Regions from separate parts of the Homo sapiens genome. Here region 2 is linked to region 1. Evidence: promoter capture Hi-C in human tissues and cell types (Jung and others, 2019). All regions are on one chromosome and are shown on one strand. The core of a region is centred on a gene start or on the middle of the fragment in contact, and the rest is flanking DNA. Distances in the headings are between cores, read along the strand shown. Region 1 holds the start of EFTUD2 (elongation factor Tu GTP binding domain containing 2). Region 2 overlaps FMNL1-DT (FMNL1 divergent transcript).

The links. Contacts are between HindIII fragments. The study calls those that stand out against the background at their distance.
Region 2: a contact is called between a fragment that was not itself captured here and the fragment with the promoter of EFTUD2 in region 1, in 1 of the 25 tissues and cell types used here (spleen).

Annotation. Positions count from the first base shown.
Region 1 is chr17:44,898,132-44,900,831 of GRCh38, reverse strand. It overlaps EFTUD2 (elongation factor Tu GTP binding domain containing 2), which reads left to right and starts at 1,387. Exons shown (of 28, transcript NM_004247.4): 1 at 1,387-1,463. DNAAF19 (dynein axonemal assembly factor 19) reads right to left here and starts at 1,103. Exons shown (of 4, transcript NM_213607.3): 1 at 973-1,103. The HindIII fragment of the contact is 11,041 bases long and covers 1-1,845 here.
Region 2 is chr17:45,206,426-45,209,125 of GRCh38, reverse strand. All of the region lies in intron 2 of FMNL1-DT (FMNL1 divergent transcript), which reads left to right. Among named protein-coding and RNA genes, the nearest start is that of FMNL1-DT, 14 kb to the left of the region's middle. The HindIII fragment of the contact is 8,026 bases long and covers 1-2,700 here.

The sequences.
Region 1 (2,700 bases), core at 138-2,637:
CAAAGACAAGTTGAATTTCACAGTGAGGACTTACACAAGACTTGTCCCTGAAAATAGAATACAGAGTCCTGACTTTCAATTTGGAGTTCTGTCTTAATTTTGCTCTTTGCCTCTAAAAATATTTTTAATTTTGGTGCTTCAGTCGAGGAGGCATTGGGATCTCAGAATTCAGTTTCTTCACTCTTCCCCCATAGGATTGTTCTACAGCAAGTCGTTTCGACAGGGGACCTCACACAAAGGCAGAACTCTTGTTAGTTACCCTTGAGCTCGGGGATAAAGTTTCATTCTTCATTGAATGTCTTTAATGAGGAAGGAGACTTTCACCCAAACCAGATGCAATGACTGAGCAGGAAATCAAGTAGAAGGGGCAAAGGAAGGAGCTCAATGACCCCATCCCCAAATCCCTCTGTCCAGCCCAGGGCTGGAACAGAGGTCCCTAGGTACCTGGGCAATGCCTTTAGTTCTATCACTGTACTTCTGTAGTTTCTGCATATCTGAGGCTGACTGATCATTTCTACAGAGATATTCTTTTCTTTTTTTTTTTTTCTGGCTCTGTTGCCCAGGCTGGAGTGCAGTGGCGCGATCTTGGCTCATTGCAACCTCTGCCTCCGGGGTTCAAGCAATTTTCGATCCTGACCTCAAGTAATCCGCGCGCCTCGGCCTCCCAAAGTGCTGGGATTACAGGCGTGAGCCACTGCAGAGAGATTCTCTACGTGGGTTCTAGTCGTGGCTCTGGCATTTACTTGTGGGACCTCTCTGAACTGCAAACTCCTAGTGAGTTGAGCTAGATTTTGTGGCGGGGTCATCACCAACAGCCCTAGCGCAAGGAAGCAGGAAGTCCCCAACCAATCCCATAGCCACCCTACCCCAACGTAGGGAATCTGAACGCCAAGAAGGGGCTGGGGTGGCCAGTAACCGAAATCAGGTGTCCAGTTCTCAGCCCTCCCCAGGCATTTAATACATAGAACTAACCCTTCCGTCCCCTTACTCAGCCTCCCGGACCTTCACCCCAGCAGTCCCGGCCTTGGTCCCCTTGCTTTCTTTGGGGATCCCCTGATAAACCAGAACAGGAGGGCAACCCCGCGCAGACCACGCCCGCAGCTGTGGTTGCCTAGCAACTGCGCTAACAGCCTGACCACGTGATCTGCCCGAAGGCCCCTCCCCCCATTTTCAGGGTGGTCCCGAGGCGCCTGATCAGATTCGTTCATCCTCAGCTCTCACCCTCTTTGGAGCAGCCCACGTCTTGGGCTACTCGTCTTGGGGACCCGCTACTCCGCCTTGCCAGTCCGCGGCGGGCATACCTCGGAACTGGTCCTCAGGCAGAGGGTTGTCCTCCCGGGCAGAAAGGCGACAGCGGCGTCTGCGGGGTCCTTCCTGGCGGCGGGCGCAGGCGTTTCCTCGGCGTGGGGCGGAAGCACGATCTCCGGCAGCGGCCTGGGAACTCTTAGCTGAGCAGGCGAGAGGTAAGTTGAAGCGGGTCAGCGGCACGGAAGGGTTGCTCCAGGTGGGATAGGAAATTAAAAAGCGTCAGATCTGGAAGGGGCCTTATATGCTATTGGCCCCTTTCGCTTTACGGATCGGTAAATTGAGGCCTGGAGCGGGAAAAAGAATGGAAGACCCTGTCGTCCTCGTGCCTTCCCAAGGCTTCCGAAGCGCGCACACACGCACACACCTCGATTTCGGGGCTGCCTCTATAGCCTCAGTCCGTAAAATCGTATCGCTAGGTAGGAGTGGTGCTCTAACTGTCCAGTCCCCTCGCTCACTTCCTCTTCTATCCGTGCCGCTTTCAGCCGTTCTTTGCCAAGTTCCCTCCGAAGTCCTCTGAGCTCCTGCATTGTAGCGGGAAGCGGCAGTGAGGTTTGTTACCATGAGTCGCTAGTTTTGTGTAACTGTGGGCAAATCAGCTATATTCTGTGTACCTTGTTAGAGTCATTCATTAGTTCAGTAAATACTTATTGAGGGCTTAGTCTATGCTAGGCACAGTACTAAGTGAACAAAGTCTTTGCTTCAATTGTAGTTGGGGAAATGAACAGTAAACAACTAGATACAAGTCAGCTAGTGATAAATGTATAACATTTGTGAATAGCAATAAAACAGTGAAAGTGGGAAGTTGGAGAGTATGTATGGGGGACTTTTTAGAGTGACAGAGAAGATGACATTTTAGTGGAGACTTGATTGAAATAAAGGAACAAGGTGAAAAATATCAAAGGGGAGAGCGTTTTGGACAAAGAGAAAGGCAAGTGCAGTGGCCCTGAGGCAGAAATGAGCTTGGCTTGTTCCATGAACAGCTTTCTATAACAGTTTCTTCAATCGGCCGGGCGCGGTGGCTCACGCCTGTAATCCCAGCACTTTGGGAGAAAGACGCGGGCGGATCACCTGAGGTCAGGAGTTCGAGACCAGCCTGGCCAACATGGTGAAAACCCATCTCTACTAAGAATACAAAAAAATTAGCCAGGCGTAGTGGTGCACTCCTGTAGTCCCAACTACTCGGGAGGCTGAGGCAGGAGAATCGCTTGAAACCAGGAGGCGGAGGTTGCAGTGAACTGAGATCGTGCCGTTGTACTCCAGCCTGGGCAACAAGAGCAAAACTCTGTCTCAAAAAATATATATAAAATAAATAAATAATTTCTTCAATCCCTTGACTGGGGTCTTGGGAGAATGAGATAAGCATAAATGCGATAGTAGCTTTTTAGAAGTAAA
Region 2 (2,700 bases), core at 72-2,571, 310 kb before region 1:
CTGCACTCCAGTCTGGGCGACAGAACAAGACTCCATCTCAAAAACAAACAAAAAAAGCCATGTATAAAGTTCTGAGCACACAGTGCCCTAAAAATGGAAGTGAAGGTGAGGATGATGAATATGCAGCAATTGCTTGGAGGGAAGGTATCTGCAGGACAAACTTGGCAATAGTCAGTTCTGAGGTCAAAGGAGGAGGGGTAAAGACTAAAGGACTGGCCAGTTGTGGTGGCTCACATCTGTAATCCCAGCACTTTGGGAGTCTGAGGTGGGAGGACGGCTTGAGTCCAGGAGTTAGAGACCAGCCTGAGCAACATAGCAAGACCTTGTCTCTACTAAAAATTAAAAAAAAAATTAGCTAGGCATGGTAGCACAAACCCAAAGTCTCAGCTACTCAGGAGGCCAAGGCAGGAGGATTACTTGAGCCTAGGAGTACGAGGACAGCCTGAGCAACACAGTGGAACCCCGTCTCTACAAAGTGTTTAAAAAGGCCTGGCGCGGTGGCTCATGCCCATAATCCCAACACTTTGGGAAGCCGAGGCAGGCAGATCATGAGGTCAGGAGTTCAAGACCAGACTAACCAATATGGTGAAACCCCATCGCTACTAAAAATACAAAAATTAGCCAGCTGTGGTGCTGTGCACCTGTAGTCACAGCTACTCGGGAGGCTGAGGCAGGAGAATCAGCCGAGAGGCGGAGGTTGCAGTGAGCCAAGATCGCGCCACTGCACTCCAGCCTGGGTGACAGAGTGACACTCCATCTCAAAAAAAAAAAAAAAAAAGTTTAAAAATTAGCCAGGTGTAGTGGTGCACACCTGTAGTCCCAGCTACTGAGGAGGCTAAGGCAGGAGGATTGCTTGAGCCAGGCAAGTAGAGGGTGAAGTGAGCCATGATTGTGCCACTGCACTGCCTGGCCAACAGAGCCAGACCCTGTCTCAAAAAAAACAAAAATTCAAGGGCTGAGTTTGAGAGTGATCACTGAGTCTGGGAAGAGAGAATCCAAAGGATGAGATACAAACAGAAACCCTGTGAACTGGAGATTATTCTAGTTTCATTTTACATTAGTGGCCACTGAGGCTGCTAATGATGAAGTAACTCAAGTCACCCACTTATAAAGTGGCAGAGCCAGGATTCAAACCCACGTTAGCCCTCTTGCTTTTCATGGTGCCTCTGAGGGGACAGCTGAGGGAGGCCAGGAGGAGTTTCTTGGTTAACAACAAATGTTTATATTTTTACTTATTTTATTTATTTATTTATTTGAGATGGAGTGTCTCAAAAAATTTTTTTTGTATTTTTTTTTTTTGTATTTTTAGTAGAGACGGGATTTCACCGTGTTAGCCAGGATGGTCTCAATCTCCTGACCTCGTGATCCACCCGCCTCGGCCTCCCAAAGTGCTGGGATTACAGGTGTGAGCCACTGCACCTGGCCTATTTATTTATTTATTTTGAGGCAAAGTCTTGCTCCATTGCCCAGGCTGGAGTGCAGTGACAAAATCATGGCTCACTACAGACTCCACCTCCTGGGTTTAGGCAATCCTCCTACCACAGCCTCCTGAGTTGCTGGGACTACAGGCGTGCACCACCATGCGCAGCTAATTTTTTTTTTTTTTAATTATTTGTAGAAACAGATTCTCCCTGTGCTGCCTAGGCTGGTCTCCAACTCCTGGGCCTCAAGTGATCCTCCCACCTCAGCCTCCAAAGTGCTAGGATTACAGACATGAGCCACCACACTTAGCCTCCAAATCTTAATCTTAGATTAAGTGTCTTAATCTTCGAAACGGTCTGCCAAGGAGACATTTGGTCACTTCTCTCACTCTGGCTGTGTCTGACTGACCTGAGAGGCTACAAACCACAGCTGTCACCTTTACTGGTCTGTCAGTCTGTCTGAAACAGCTCTGACAACCCAGCCAGAAGAGGAAAATGTAGTCATTTCTTTCAAGGCCCTAAGTCTTACAAAAAGTAGGGCAGATGGGGACCGGCTGCAGTGGCTCCTGCCTGTAATCCTACTGCTTTGGGAGCCCAAGGCGGAGAATCACTTGAGACCAGGAGTTCAAGATGAGCCTGGGCAACATAGTGAGACCCTGTCTCTATAGAAACTAAAAAATTAGCAAGGCATGGTGGTGTGTGCCTGTTGTCCCAGCTACTCAAGAGGCTGAGGTGGGAATATCGCTTGAGCCTAGGAGCTCAAGGCTGCAGTCAGCCGTGATCAAACCACTGCACTCCAGCCTGGGTGACAGAGTGAGAAATTGTCTCAAAAAATAAACAGGCTAGGTGTGGTGACTCATGCCTGTAATCCCAGCATTTTGGGAGGCTGAGGCAGGTGGATCATTTGAGGTCAGTAGTTCAAGACCAGCCTGGCCAAAATAGTGAAACCCCACCTCTACTAAAAATAAAAAATTAGCCAGAAGTGGTGGCAGGTGCCTATAATCCCAGCTACTCGGGAGGTTGAGGCAGGTGAATCACTGGAACCAGGGAGGTGGAGGTTGCAGTGAGCCAAGATCATGCCACTGTGCTCCAGCCTGGGCGACAGAGCGAGACTCCATCTTAAAAAAGCAAACAAACAAACTAGGGCAGGTGAGGTCCCATCCAATCTGCAGCCAAATAGACTGGGACTCACAGCTGCCCAGAGCTGCTGAGCTAAGAGGAGAGAGTGGACTAAGGGGGCCACCTAGAAAACCTAGGTCCATTCTTGGGGCTAGGGGAG